Linked DNA regions of Homo sapiens: regions 1, 2, 3 and 5 are each linked to region 4. Evidence: promoter capture Hi-C in 16 types of primary human blood cells and fetal thymus (Javierre and others, 2016). All regions are on one chromosome and are shown on one strand. The core of a region is centred on a gene start or on the middle of the fragment in contact, and the rest is flanking DNA. Distances in the headings are between cores, read along the strand shown. Region 1 overlaps IL21R (interleukin 21 receptor). Region 2 overlaps GTF3C1 (general transcription factor IIIC subunit 1). Region 3 overlaps IL21R (interleukin 21 receptor). Region 4 holds the start of NSMCE1 (NSE1 component of SMC5/6 complex). Region 5 holds the start of IL21R-AS1 (IL21R antisense RNA 1).

What was found. The method cuts DNA at HindIII sites, captures the fragments that hold promoters and counts their contacts. A CHiCAGO score of 5 or more calls a contact.
Region 1: a contact is called between a fragment that was not itself captured here and the fragment with the promoter of NSMCE1 in region 4, in 9 of 17 cell types (activated CD4 T cells, fetal thymus, monocytes and 6 more). The highest score is 9.6, in activated CD4 T cells.
Region 2: a fragment that was not itself captured here is called in contact with the fragment with the promoter of NSMCE1 in region 4 in 2 of 17 cell types (naive CD8 T cells and total CD4 T cells); the score reaches 5.8 in naive CD8 T cells.
Region 3: a contact is called between a fragment that was not itself captured here and the fragment with the promoter of NSMCE1 in region 4, in 10 of 17 cell types (total B cells, activated CD4 T cells, non-activated CD4 T cells and 7 more). The highest score is 9.6, in total B cells.
Region 5: a contact is called between a fragment that was not itself captured here and the fragment with the promoter of NSMCE1 in region 4, in 11 of 17 cell types (activated CD4 T cells, non-activated CD4 T cells, naive CD8 T cells and 8 more). The highest score is 15.8, in activated CD4 T cells.

Annotation. Positions count from the first base shown.
Region 1 is chr16:27,417,072-27,419,793 of GRCh38, reverse strand. All of the region lies in intron 1 of IL21R (interleukin 21 receptor), which reads right to left. Among named protein-coding and RNA genes, the nearest start is that of IL21R, 16 kb to the right of the region's middle. The HindIII fragment of the contact is 5,619 bases long and covers 1-2,722 here.
Region 2 is chr16:27,477,308-27,480,007 of GRCh38, reverse strand. It overlaps GTF3C1 (general transcription factor IIIC subunit 1), which reads left to right. Exons shown (of 37, transcript NM_001520.4): 28 at 1,477-1,539. Among named protein-coding and RNA genes, the nearest start is that of IL21R-AS1, 25 kb to the right of the region's middle. The HindIII fragment of the contact is 5,121 bases long and covers 1-2,700 here.
Region 3 is chr16:27,433,812-27,436,511 of GRCh38, reverse strand. It overlaps IL21R (interleukin 21 receptor), which reads right to left. Exons shown (of 9, transcript NM_181078.3): 3 at 2,063-2,165. Among named protein-coding and RNA genes, the nearest start is that of IL21R-AS1, 18 kb to the left of the region's middle. The HindIII fragment of the contact is 7,943 bases long and covers 1-2,700 here.
Region 4 is chr16:27,267,362-27,270,061 of GRCh38, reverse strand. NSMCE1 (NSE1 component of SMC5/6 complex) reads left to right here and starts at 1,290. Exons shown (of 8, transcript NM_145080.4): 1 at 1,290-1,356. It overlaps NSMCE1-DT (NSMCE1 divergent transcript), which reads right to left and starts at 1,857. Exons shown (of 5, transcript NR_037184.1): 1 at 1,818-1,857. RefSeq lists a silencer at 1,317-1,396. The HindIII fragment of the contact is 3,617 bases long and covers 92-2,700 here.
Region 5 is chr16:27,451,771-27,454,521 of GRCh38, reverse strand. It overlaps IL21R (interleukin 21 receptor), which reads right to left. Exons shown (of 9, transcript NM_181078.3): 9 at 2,480-2,751. IL21R-AS1 (IL21R antisense RNA 1) reads left to right here and starts at 1,129. Exons shown (of 3, transcript NR_037158.1): 1 at 1,129-1,425; 2 at 1,600-1,779. RefSeq lists an enhancer at 1,622-1,721. The HindIII fragment of the contact is 2,351 bases long and covers 295-2,645 here.

The DNA of each region.
Region 1 (2,722 bases), core at 135-2,634, 150 kb before region 4:
TACTATACTATATCTTAAATCACTATTTTAGGGTGTGCTCCTTGTACTTACTTAAAAAAAAATGTTGGAGGGGCACAGTGGCTTACGCCTGTAATCCCAGCACTTTGGGAGGCTGAGGCAGGCAGATCACTTGAGGTCAGGAGTTGGAAACCAGCCTGGCCAACATGGTGAAACCCCATCTCTACTAAAAATACAAAAATTAGCCAGGCACGGTGGTGTGTGCTTGTAATTCCAGCTATTCGTGAGACTGAGGCACAAGAATCGCATGAACCCAGGAGGTGGAGGCTGCAGTGAGCCAAGATTGTGCCACTGCACTCCAGCCTGGGTGACAGAGCAAGACTCTTAAAAACAAACAAAAAATGTTAACTTGTAAAACAGCCTCAGGCAGGTCCTTCAGGATGGATTCCGGAAGAAGGCATCATTATCATAGGAGATGCCAGCTCCATGTGTGTTTTTGCCACTGAAGACCTTCCAGTGGGACAAAATGTGGAGGTGGAAGACAGTCATATTGGTGATCTTGACCCTGTGTAGGCCTAGGCTAATGTGTCTGCCTGTGTCTTAGATTTTTTGTTTTTTGTTTTCTGGGTTTTTTTGAGATGGAGTTTTGCTCTTGTTGCCTAGGCTGGAGTGCAATGGCGTGGTGTTGGTTTTCCCGGGTTCAAGTGATTCTCCTGTCTCAGCCTCCCAAGTAGCTGGGATTACAGGCGCCCGCCACCATGCTTGGCCAATTTTGTATTTTTAGTAGAGATGGGGCTTTCACCATGTTGGCCAGGCTGGTCTCGAATTCCTGATTGCAGGCGATCCGCCCTCCTTGGCCTCCCAAAGTGCCGGGATTACGGGCATGAGCCACCATGCCCCGCGTGTCTTAGGTTTTAACAAAAAAAAATTTTTTTAAGTAAAAAAATAAAAAATAAAAAATTTTAAAATATAATATATAAAAAGGCTTTTAGAATAAGAATATAAAGAAAAATATTTTGTATAGCTGTACAATGTGTTTGTGTCTTAAGTGTTAGTACAAGAGTGCACGAAAACACTTAAGTGTTATTACAATAAGATAACTGTTATTACAAAAGTGTTATTCAAAAAGTTTTAAAAAGTTAAAATGTTTATAAAGAAAAAATGTTGGCGGGGCGCAGCGGCTCATGCCTGTAATCCCAGCACTTTGGGAGGCCAAGGCGGGCAGATCACGAGGTCAGGTGATCAAGACTATCCTGGCTAACATGGTGAAACCCCGTCTCTACTAAAAATACCAAAAAAATTAGCCGAGCGTGGTGGCGCGCACCTGTAGTCCCAGCTACTCTGGAGGCTGAGACAGGAGAATTGCCTGAACCTGGGAGGCGGAGGTTGCAGTGAGCTGAGATCGCGACACTGCACTCCAGCCTGGGTGATAGAGTGAGACTCTGTCTCAAAAAATGAAATAAAATAGGGCCGGGCGCGGTAGCTTACGCCTGTAATCCCAGCGCTTTGGAAGGGCGAGACGGGCAGATCACAAGGTCAGGAGATCGAGACCATCCTGGTTAGCACGTGAAACCCCATCTCTACTAAAAATACAAAAAATTAGCCGGGCGCAGTGGCAGGCGCCTGTAGTCCCAGCTACTTGGGAGGCTGAGGCAGGAGAATGGCGTGAACCCGGGAGGCGGAGCTTGCAGTGAGCCGAGATCACGCCACTGCACTCCAGCCTGGGCGATAGAGCGAACCTCCGTCTTAAATAAAATAAAATAACATAAATAAAATAAAATAAAATAAAATAAAATAAAATAAAATAAAATAAAATAAAATAAATAAAATAGGAAAAATGTTACAGTAAGCCAAAGTTAATTTATTATTTTAAAAATTCAAATAAATTTAGAGTAGCCTAAGAGTTCAGTGTTGATAAAGTTTACAGGAGTGTACAGCAATGTCCTGGGCCTTCACATTCCCTCAGCACTTAATCACTGACACCCAGAGCAACTTCGAATCCTGCAAACTGCATTCATGGTAAGTGCCCTACACAGGTGTGCCGTTTTTTCATATTTTATATTATGTTTTCACTGTACCTTTTCTATGTTTAGATACACAAATACTTACAATTGTGTTACAGTTGCCTACAGTATTCAGTACCGTATCATGCTGTGCAGGTTTGTAGCCAATTATAGGCTGTAAGATACAGCCTAGGTGTGTAGTAGGCTATACCACCTAGGTTTGTGTAAGTGCACTCTATGACGTTCACACAATGACAAAATTACCTAATGACACATTTCTCAGAATGTATCCTCGTCATTAAGCAATGTATGACTGTTTCCATATGACCAAGAAATTTCACACCTAGTTATATAGTGAAAAGAATTGACCAGATGCAGTAGCTCATGCCTGTAATCCCAGCATACTGGGAGGCCAAGGCGGGAGGGTTGCTTGAGCCCAGGAGTTTGAGACTAGCCTGGGTAACATGGCAAGACCTCATCTCTACAAAAATTAAAATGAAAACATTTTCTGGGCATGGTGGTATGTACCTGTGGCCCCAGCTACTCAGGAGGCTAAGGTGGGAGGATCACATGAGCCCAAGAGTTTGAGGCTACAGTGAGCTGTTTTCACACCATTGCAGTCCAGCCTGGGTGACAGAGTGTGACCCTGTCTCAAAAAAAAAAAAAAAAGAAAAGAAAAAAGAAAGAAAAAGGAAAGAAAACAATTGCGGATATATGTCCAGAAAGAAATGTACAAACCATTGTAGACAAATATTCACAGC
Region 2 (2,700 bases), core at 166-2,665, 210 kb before region 4:
AGGATGGTCTGGATCTCCTGACCTCGTGATCTGCCCGTCTCAGCCTCCCAAAGTGCTGGGATTACAGGCATGAGCCACCGCACCCGGCCACAATTTTTAATCATAAAAGAAGACAGAGATTTTTAAAGGAGAGCCCATGAACCATTTAGAGAGAAGAAAAAGTTGCAAGTGTAACAGTTTAATACTGATTGTGATCCTGAGCATTCTGGCAGGCAAGGCAGAATAGAAAATGGTTCCAAGCCAGGTGTGGGGGCTTAACACCCATCATCCCAGCAGTTTGGGAGGCCGAGGCGGGTGGATCACCTGAGGTCAGCAATTCGAGACCAGCCTGGCCAACATGGTGAAACCCTGTCTCTTCTAAAAATACAAAAATTAGCTGGGCGTGGTGGCACGTGCCTGTAATCCCAGCTACTTGGGAGGCTGAAGCAGGAGAATCACTTGAACCCAGGAAGCAGAGGTGGTTTTCACGTTTTCTGAAAAGTTTCTTTTTCTTGGCACTAAATTATAAGAGGAATTTACTATTGCAGTCAAGATTAATTTTTCTGTTAGTTTGTTAGAAACCGAAGAAATGTCCTACAAATGGCCAATTTGTCATATTTTATAAAAAGGCAGTTCTATGACTTATTCTTAAATTTACTTGCTTGGTATACATACAGTAAAATAATATTACATGAAACTCAAAAAAAAAATGGGGAAATGGTTTGTAATTCCAACACCTAATATGGCTACTCTTTGGGGATTTTCATATTTCTTTGTTTTAATTGATGAATAATAATTTTATATATTTATGGGGTACAGTGTGATGTTTTAATATATGTGTTCATTGAGGAAGGATGAAGTCAAGTTAACCAACATATCTGTCGCCTCACCAACTTCTTTTGTTGGCAATACAAACCTTAAAAATCTATTATTTTAGTAATTTCAAAATATGTAATGTGTTATTAACTGTGGTCACCATGCAGTTTTAAATCATGAAAACTTTTTCCTCTGGTCTAACTGTAACTTTATACCCTTTGCTCAACATCTTTCCTTTCTTCATTCCTTCCCTTCCACTTCCCAGCCTCTGGGAACCACCTTTTTCCTTCTTCTATGAGAATAATTTTTTTAGATTACTTCTGGGTGGGACATTTTCTTCTTGTGCTTTTTTTTTTTTTTTGGATTGTAACACACCCACAGTTTTAGGTGCTGTTCCTCTTACAATTAACAGTGGATCTTTGCCAGTTCACATTTTTCCGTGTTGCCACATAATTGTCGGTGAGTGAACATTGCACATTTTCTCAGCCCTCCTTTTTATAACAGGCAGGACAGGGTATATTCTCATTTTAATTTACATGCACAGCACTCGACATTTGGTGAGTTTAACATTTCTCCCACTCCCAACACTTTAGCCAATAAATGGCCATCTTGAGCCAGCATCCGCTTGCTTAGTGAGGAGCTGTTTTGTTTCACTGACATGCTGTTATGTTTCTTTTGCAGGTACCGAGTTTTGGCAATTGGGGATGAAAAAGATCAAACCAGGAAAGAGGATGAACTTAACAGGTAAGTACTGATATATAGAGTAGCTTTTCCTCAGCTGCTTAATAACTTGATGGCTGACAACCTATTGCACTGGGGTAATCTAGGGCCAAATCCAGCCCACTACCTGTTTGTGTGAACAAAATTTTACTGGCATACAGCCATGCCCATTCTGTATGTTGTCTATGCTGCTTTTGTGCAAGAACCTCAGAGGTAAGTACAGTTGACCTTTGAACAATTTGTGGGTAAGGGGACGCCGACCCCCTGCACAGTCAAAAATCCACATAGAACTTTTTTTTTTCTTTCCTTTTTTTTTTCTTTTGAGATGGAGTCTTGCTCTTTCGCCCAGGCTGAAGTGCAGTGGATTGATCTCAGCTCACTGCAGCCTCTGCCTCCTTGGTTCAGGTGATTCTCATTCTTCAGCCTCCCGAATAGCTGAGATTACAGGCACCTGCCACCACACCCAGCTAATTTTTGTATTTTTTAGTAGAGACGGGGTTTTGCCGTGTTGGCCAGGCTGGTCTGGAACTCCTGGCCTCAAGTGATCTGCCCACCTTGGTCTCTCAAAGTGCTGGGATTACAGGCGTAAGCCACCACTCCTGACCCAAGTATAACTTTTGACTCCCTAAACCTAACCACTGATAGCCTACTGTTGATCAGAAACCTTATCAATAACAGTTGATTAATATACAGGTGTAAGCCACTATGCCTGGCCCCACATGTAACTTTTGACTCCTCAAAACCTAACCACTGATAGCCTACTGTTGACCAGAAACCTTATCAATAACAAAGAGTTGATTAATTTATATTTTGTATCTTACATATGTTATATACTGTGCTCTTACAATAAAATAAGGTAGAGAAAAGAAACTGTTAACAAAAATAAGGGGCCAGGCACAGTGCCTCACGCCTGTAATCCCAGCACTTTGGGAGGGCGCTGCCGGCGGATCACCTGAGGTCAAGAGTTCAAGGCCAGCCTGGCCAACATGGTGAAACCCCGTCTCTACTTAAAAATACAAAAATTAGCTGGGCGTGGCAGGTGCCTGTAATCCCAGCTGCTGGGGAGGCTGAGGCAGGAGAATCGCTTGATCCTGGGAAACGGAGGTTGCAGTGAGCTGAGATCACACCATTGCACTCAAGCCTGGGCGACATGAGCAAAACTCTGTCTCAAAAAAAAAAAAGGAA
Region 3 (2,700 bases), core at 69-2,568, 170 kb before region 4:
TTGCTGGAATACAAGTTCCTGCTGAATAAATGCTCTCCAAGCCTCCCAGCCTGAACTTGCTCCTTATTCCCCCTCACCCTGCCTCACTCCACTCCAGCCACACTGACCTCCTCCCTATTCCTCAAACGCACCAGCTCTTCTCCCACAGGGCCTTTGCACTGGCAGTGCCCTCTGCCCAGCTCCCTGGCTTCCTCCTTCTCACTAGCAGTTGTGGTCCCTTTACCTGAGGTCCAGTGTTCTGTCCTTGATATAGCACCCAGTATTATTAGAAAGTATCCTGTTTGGGGCAGAACACGGTGGCTTATGCCTGTAATCCCAACACTTTGGGAGGCTGGCCATGCGGCAGACCGGCCATCCCGGGGTCTCAAAACCATGGGCGACCTGTGTGGGCGAGAGAGTGGTCTTTGAAGCTGGTGGATAGACCAACCCTGCGGGCTCCTGACTTTTCAAGTCCTGTGAGCCCTGAGTGGTTGTCTGAAAGGCGGGTACAGTGGGCGGATCACTTGAGGCCAGGAGTTCGAGACCAGGTGGGCTAACATGACAAAACCCTGTCTCTACTTAAAATACAAAAATTAGCCAGGCATGGTGGTGCACACCTGGATGCAATCCCAGATACTTGGGAGGTTGAGGCAGGAGAATTGCTTGAACCCAGGAGGTGGAGGTTGCAGTGAGCCGAGATCATGCCACCGCACTCCAGCCTGGGCAACAGAGTGAGACTCCGTCTCCAAAAAAAAGAAAGAAAGAAAGTGTCCTGTTTGGGCCTGGCATGGTGGCTCACACCTGTAATCCCAGCACTTTGGGAGGCTGAGGTGGGCAGATTGCTTGAGCCCAGGAGTTTGAATCCAGCCTGGGTAACATGGCAAAACCCTGTCTTTACAAAAACTACAAAAATTATCCAGGTATGGTGATGCATGCCTGTAGTCCCAGCTACTCAGGAGGCTTAGGTGGAGGGATTGCTTGAGCCCAGGAGGTCAAGGCTACAGTGAGTTCTGATCCCACCACTGCACTCCAGCCTGGGCAACAGAGCAAGACCCTGTCTCAAAAAAATAAAATAAAATAAAATAAAATAAAATAAAAAAGAGAAAGCACCTTGTTGGTTGTTTTGTGTGTCTGTCTCCCCCAGCCTCCGCCCCACCGTGGTACGTCAGTTCCAAGGCATCTGGGGCCTGGTCAGTCTTGCTCTGCTGAATCCCCAGTGCCTGCAACAGTGTCTGGCAGGAACTTAATACATGTTTTGTTTTGTTTTGTTTTGTTTTTGAGTTGGGATCTTGCTTTTTTGCCCAGGCTGGAGTGCAGTGGCGTGATCATAGCTCACTGCAGCCTCGACCTCCTGAGCTTGGTCCCCCTGCCTTAGACTCTCAAGTAGCTGGGATTACAGGATTGTGCCACCACGCCCGACTGATTTATTTTTTGTAGAGACAGGGTTTTGTGATGTTGCCCAGGCTGGTCTCAAACTCCTGGGCTCAAGTGATCCTCCTTCCTTGGCCTCCCAAAGTGCTGGGGTTAGAAACATGAGCCACTGCACCTGGCCTATAAATGGTTTTGAATGAATGAATGAGCTGATGGATAACAGAAGCTCTTCTTTATCCTGAGCTGCATAGGGTCTAAAAGGGACCCATGGACTTTGGAGTTGGGCGGTCTGAATTTGAATCCCAGCTCCAGCATTCACTGGCTGTGTGACCTTAGGCAAGTTGCTTAACCTCTCTGAACCTCAATGTCCTCATCTGTAAAATGGGAGTAATCATTGTGAGGGTTGGGGGTGACCATTCATGGGAAGCGTGTAGTTGGGGGCCTGGTACCTAAGTGCTTGAAAAATCATGCGGGAAACCAGCCATCCCGGGGTCTCAAAACCATGGCCGACCTGTGTGGGTGAGAGAGTGGCCTTTGAAGCTGGTGGATAGACCAACCCTGCGGGCTCCTGACTTTTCAAGTCCTGTGAGCCCTGAGTGGTTGTCTGAAAGGCGGACACAGTGGTCCTCAGTGCACAGTGTCCTCCTGGGGGAATCACTGAGCAGGCACCCTGAATTGCATCCCCGGGGACTGGTGAGGCCCGGCTACTTACCAGGTAAGGGTGAGCGTGCTGGGGTGGAGGTTCCACATTTCCAGGATGCAGATGACCGTCTGGAGGTAATCGGTGTAGCAGACGAGGTCGGGGCAGCCCCAGCCTGGAGGGTCAGTGGGGAGAGAGGCCTTGGTGGGGGGTGGCTTGGGACTGCAGAGCTTCCTCTCCATCCCCTCGAGGGCTGGAGGAAGAATGGGTGCAGGGGTCCCCAGGCCGGGACAAATATGAGGACTCAGGAGCTGCTTAGATGTAGGCCTGGCACCCAGGGGGCCTCACCACCTGGAAATTCCTTGTTTGAGCACCAATGTTTCAAGGCTGGCTATGAAGACAGGATGCATGTGATGGCAAATAATATAAAACTAGCTGGTCCCCAGCTCAGCACCCTCCTCCAGAGCCCTGCGCCCGGCCACCAGGTCTGTGTCCCTCCTGGCCAAGCTCCCACTCAGAATGGCAATATCCTAAATGCCCCAGATGTGGTAGGAACCCAGCCAGAGCACACGCACACACCCCAAGAGGGTCAGGACCTCATAGAGTCAAGGACAGCTATGCTGAAAATGTCCCAAAACCCTGACAAGGAAGAGGACTCGGCTCTACAGAAGTTGGATCCACAGGACACCCACTCTCGGAGATTCAGGAAG
Region 4 (2,700 bases), core at 41-2,540:
GACAGCTGACTGTACTTTGTCCTATGTCTCAGAGACACTGAGTTTAAGGCCCAGGATTCCATGTTGACCATCCAGCTCCAAAGCTGAAGCTTTTAATCACCACACACCACTGCTTTCCCACTTAGCAGATGAAACTGAAGCCCAGAGAGGTTAAGAGGTTGTCCAAGATCACAGGGGTGGTGAGTGACCAAGCCTGGATTTGATCTATCCTCACAGAGACAGATATTTGCAGGTACTGCTGTTCTATATTAGTTACCTGTTTCCCTTGCTAGGCTGCATCCCTAGCTCTCAGACCAGGGATAGAATTCAAACGTTTGGAAAATTAACGCCTTGAAGACTCAAAGCAGTCCATTCACTTCCACGAGTAATTTCACTTGCTTTCTCACAATCCCTAGGTAAGATAACAGTTAACATATAATCAGCACTCCCATGTGACACTTTTCAATGGCCATGCTAAGCACCTGATATAGGTGTTATTATCTCTTGTAAATCTCACCAACACTATTTTGCAAGAACTAATATCCTCATTTAATGGAAGAGGAAACTGAGGCTCAGTGACTTGCCCAAGCGCCTGCCAACTAGTAAGTGGCAGAGCCAGGATTCTAGATCAGGCTCTATGACCACAGAGTCCACATTTTTCTTTTCTTTTTTTTTGAGCTCTGTCACCCAGGCTCGAGTGCTGTGGTACGATCTGGCTCACTGCAACCTCTGCCTCTCGGGTTCAAGTGATTCTCCTGCCTCAGCCTCCCGGGTAGCTGGGATTACAGGCACACACCACCACGCCCGGCTACTTTTTGTATTTTTAGTAGGGACGGGGGTTTCACCATGTTGGCCAAGCTGGTCTCGAACTCCTGACCTCAAGTGATCGGCCCGCCTTGGTCTCCCAAAGTGCTGGGATTACTTACAGGCGTGAGCCACCGCGACCGGACCAGAGTCCACATTTTTGACGTCGAGGCCACACTCAGTTCCACAGATGGGGAAACTGAGGCCCGGGGCAGGGCACTACATTGTGCCAGCGGAATGGTGGCCATTGAGGGAAGCCCAGGCTGCACGCCAATTCTTCCTCCTTGGTCAGGGAAGTCACTGAGGTGCAGGAGGCGGAGGGCGACAAGTGGAAGCCCCTTCCCATTATTAAGGATCGAGAGCGGGCGTAATTTGGGATCTAACCCACGAGGCGGAACCACCAGGGCAATGGCGCAAACGGAGAACCGGAAGTGCGTCACTCAACGGACGGGCGAATAAGCCGCAGGCCACCAATGGGAACGCCGCGTTCGCGTTCGCCCCGCCTCAAAGGAAGAAGAGTCCACCTTGCGACCGTATCCGCTAGCGCGGCCTGGGATGCGCTTGGGCTCCCTGGTGGGTAACGTGGGGAGCTAGGGGTTGGAGGGGAAAGAAGAGGGACTTCAAGGAAGGCGAGGGGAGGACGGAAGGTGGGGTGGGCGAGACAGGCAGTGGGGTCCGGCCCCGGGGTCGGTCCCCGTGGGCTGTGGAACTCGGGGACTGGGGTCTTGGGGTTTCCCCCTTCTTGATGGGGAAACTGAGGCCCAGACAGGGGCCGCAGAAAACAGCGGACTGGGATGTCCTCCCGCAACACACACGCAGACATCTAAAAATCTTACTATTTAGTGAAAAATATTTTTAATCGTAATTACGATTTAACAGGTAAAGATACTTTTCATTGTAACAGGTGAAAAAGCAAAATATAAAATTCGATTCAAACTGTGATTACATCTATGGAAAATACAGCCTTTGCCGACCACCCTCTTTGTCCCGCCGCCCTCCGTGCTCCCCTCTGTTTTGTGTACGGAGTTTCTTACTTTGTACAAGTCCGCAGCCGCTTATGTTACAGCCCCGAGGCCAGATGCGTTTAAAATCGAGGAGTTCTCGGAGTTTGGAAAGGTAAAGTCCCTATGTTCTATGTTAGGTTTCACCCTCAGAGGGGGCTGGAGCAGCGGCTTGTAATCAAATACACGACCCTTTCCACAGCTAAAGTTATGAAGATACGCATATATTACATTGACCTGGTCGCGGTGGCCCACGGCTATAATTCCAGCACTTTGGGAAGCTGAGGGGGGCGGATCACCTGAGGTTCGGAGTTCGAAACCAGCCTGGCTAATATGGTGAAACCCTGTCTCTACTAAAAATACAAAAAATTAGCCGGGCGTGGTGGTGCGTGCCTGTAATCCCAGCTACTCGGGAGGCTGAGACGGAAGGCTGAGGCAGGAGAATCGCTTGAACCCGGGAGGCGGAGGTTGCAGTGAATCAAGATCGTGCCACTTCACTCCAGCTTGGGCAACAAGAGCGAAACTCCGTCTCAAAAAAAAAAATGCATATATTTACACTGTTGGGATAAATAACCATAAATAGCCTCACCTTAAGTCAGGTCAAGTTTTCCAACTTAAACAAGTTTTGGTATTCAGACTTTTTTTTTTTTTTCCCCTGCATCCGATCATCCACTAGTATTCATACCTTTTTAGATTTGAGGGTTGCAGATGAGGGACCTGGATTGTAGTTGTTCTGTTCACTCACTTTTCTCACTCTCGCTGGATAGAGAGTGTCCTTGAAAACAGGAACTGTGCTGTTGTATGGTCACGTCTATCTCTGCCACCAACTCTTGTGTGTCACCTTGTGCCCTCTTAGTCTCAGTTTCCTCATCTGTAAGATGGGGTCAGTGACCCTTTGCTCATAAGGTTGTTCTGG
Region 5 (2,751 bases), core at 221-2,720, 180 kb before region 4:
TCCCAAGCAGCTGGGACTACAGGCACAAGCCACCAAGCCCAGCTGATTTTTGTATTTTTTTTTTTTAGCAGAGATGGGGTTTCACCATATTGCTCAGGCTGGTCTCGATCTCCTGACCTCAGGTGATCCACCCACCTCGGCCTCCCAAAGTGCTGGGATTACAGGCGTCAGCCACCGTGCCCAGCCAATCTGGTTGTTTAAAAGAGTCTGGGACCTCCCACTTTGCTCTCTTCCTCCTACTCTTGCCAGGTGACACGCAGGCTCCCCCTTAGCCTTCTGCTGTGATTGGAAGCTTCCTGAGGCCTCACCCAGAATAAATGCTGGTGCCATGCTTCCTGCACAACCTGCAGAACTGAGAGCCAATTAAGCCTCTTTGTAAATTACCTAGACCCTGGTATTTCTCTTTTTTATTTTTTGAGACAGGATCTTTCTGTCGCTCAGCGTGGAGTGCAGTGGCGCCATCTCAGCTCACTGCAACCTCTGCCTCCCGGATTCAAGTGATCCTCGTGTCTCAGCCTCCTGAGTAGCTGGGATTACAGGCATGTGCCACCATGCCAGACTCATTTTTGTATTTATAGTAGAGACAGGGTTTTGCCATGTTGGCCAGGCTGGTCTTGAACTCCTAGCCTCAAGGGATCCGCCTGCCTCGGCCTCCCAAAGTGCTGGGATTATAGGCGTGATCCCAGCCTAGCCTGGTATTTCTTTATAGTGACACAAGGACTAATACAAGGTCCTTCCTTAGGATAGAAGGAGAGTCCTTACTGTGGGGATAATATCAGAATAATGCTAGAACACTTTCTGCTGCAAGGGACAGAAACCCACCTCAAACCAGCTTAAGCAAAAAAGGAAATTTATCAGCTCATTGATTCAGCTAGGGTAGGCAGGGTTATGCTGTGGTAACAAACAGCCCCATCTCAGCAGCTTAGAACAACAAAGGATTGATTCCTTGCTCACGATACACGTCTATCACAAGTGAACTGAAACTTCAGTCCGTATCTCCTTGCTCAAGGACCCAGGTGCCCAGGCAGATGGAGCAGTCACCATCATCATCTGTCTCTGTGACAGAGGAAAAACACCCCAGGGGGTGTGGTAGCCATCTGAAAAATGCTCTGCCCAGAAGTGAGACTTATCACTTCTGCTCACAACTGCCCAGTCCCAGCCAGTCACATGGCCCCATCTGGCTACAGAGGGTCAGGATGTACAATCCTGCCATGTGCCCAGCATATGGTGAACAGCATAATGACTTCCATACTCATGTATCTAAACGGTCCAGGAGAAACGTGGTTTCAGGCATGGCTGGATCCGGGATCTCAAGAGCTATTACCATCTCTCAGCTCTGCTTTCTTGTGTGTTTCTTGCTGCCCCTCCCAGTACCCTCCTTACAGCTTAGTAATCCCAGCAGAAAGAGAGCATGGACCAGCTAGGGTATGTCTGTCCCTAAACTGTACTGTTGCCAGGGGGAAGAAATGTCCTACTGGGCAGGCCTGGTTCACATAGCCACTCCCAGAGCTGGGGTCAGCCACGTCTCCAAACTGCTGCACAGGCAGATGCAGCAGGCACCCACGGCGTCTGCTAAACCTTCCTCACCTCTTGATCTAGGTACGTTCCAGCAGAGCAAGGTGAAAAAGAGCTGAAAGTGGCATCAGAAGCCCAGAGTTCTGGTTCCAGCTCCGACCACTCATTCAGTGTGTGACCTCAGGCAGGTCACCAGCCTGAGCTGTGCCTTCATTTCATCTGTCAGACGGATGACTCTGCCCCTCAGAGCTTGCAGACGGCAAGGTGAGGAATGCGGCAGCTGGGAAAGTGACGTTGCTATCGGTCCCCCTTCCTCTTCAGTGAGTCTTGTCAGCAATTCTGGCCTGGTCTTTGGAGGGCGAGGAGCGCCTGTCCCACTTGCTCCTGACCCTTGGTCGTACCTCCAGGCCTTTGTCCAAGCTCTTCCCTCTGCCCCAAATAGCTGGTACATGTAACAACGCCTATTCATTTTTCCTTTTTTTTTTTTTTTATGAGACGTAGTCTCGCTCTGTCACCCAGGCTGGAGTGCAGTGGTGTGATCTCTGCTCGCTGCAACCTCCATCTCTCAGATTCTCCTGCCTCAGCCTCCTGAGTAGCTGGGGTTACAGGCACCCGCCACCGCACCCAGCTAATTTTTGTATTTTTAGTAGAGACTGGGTTTCACCACGTTGCCCAGGCTGGTCTCAAACTCCTGACCTCTAATGATCTGCCCGCCTCGGCCTCCCAAAGTGCTAGGATTACAGTCATGAGCCACCACTCCCAGCCTCCTATTCATTTTTCGAAGTCCAACCAACACCACCTCCTCCCTGAAGCCCCCTACTCCTCTTGATGTTCTCTCTGGGCTACCATCGGTGAGCTGGGACTCACTCATACCAGCCAGGAGGGCAGATTGTGCATATCTCTTCCCAACTCTGTGTTTAGACTCAAATCAGGAGCATGAAATTACACCATGGAAATAAGCAAATGCTACAAATCAGGCTTTATTGAGTGCCTACTATGTGCCAGGCTGGGACTAAAGGCAGTGAACAAAATAGAGTTGCTGGCCTGGTATAACTTGTGTTTTATCTTTATCTTTGTTTCCAGTATGCATTTATCTCTGTCTATCCAACCAATCATTCTTCCTTCAAGCTTTTTATTAAAGCCATTAAGAGTAATATCAAAGACTTTTGCACCAACTTAATACCATCTTCCTATCCACCCACACATCCATCCATCCTCCATCCACCCTCCTACCTA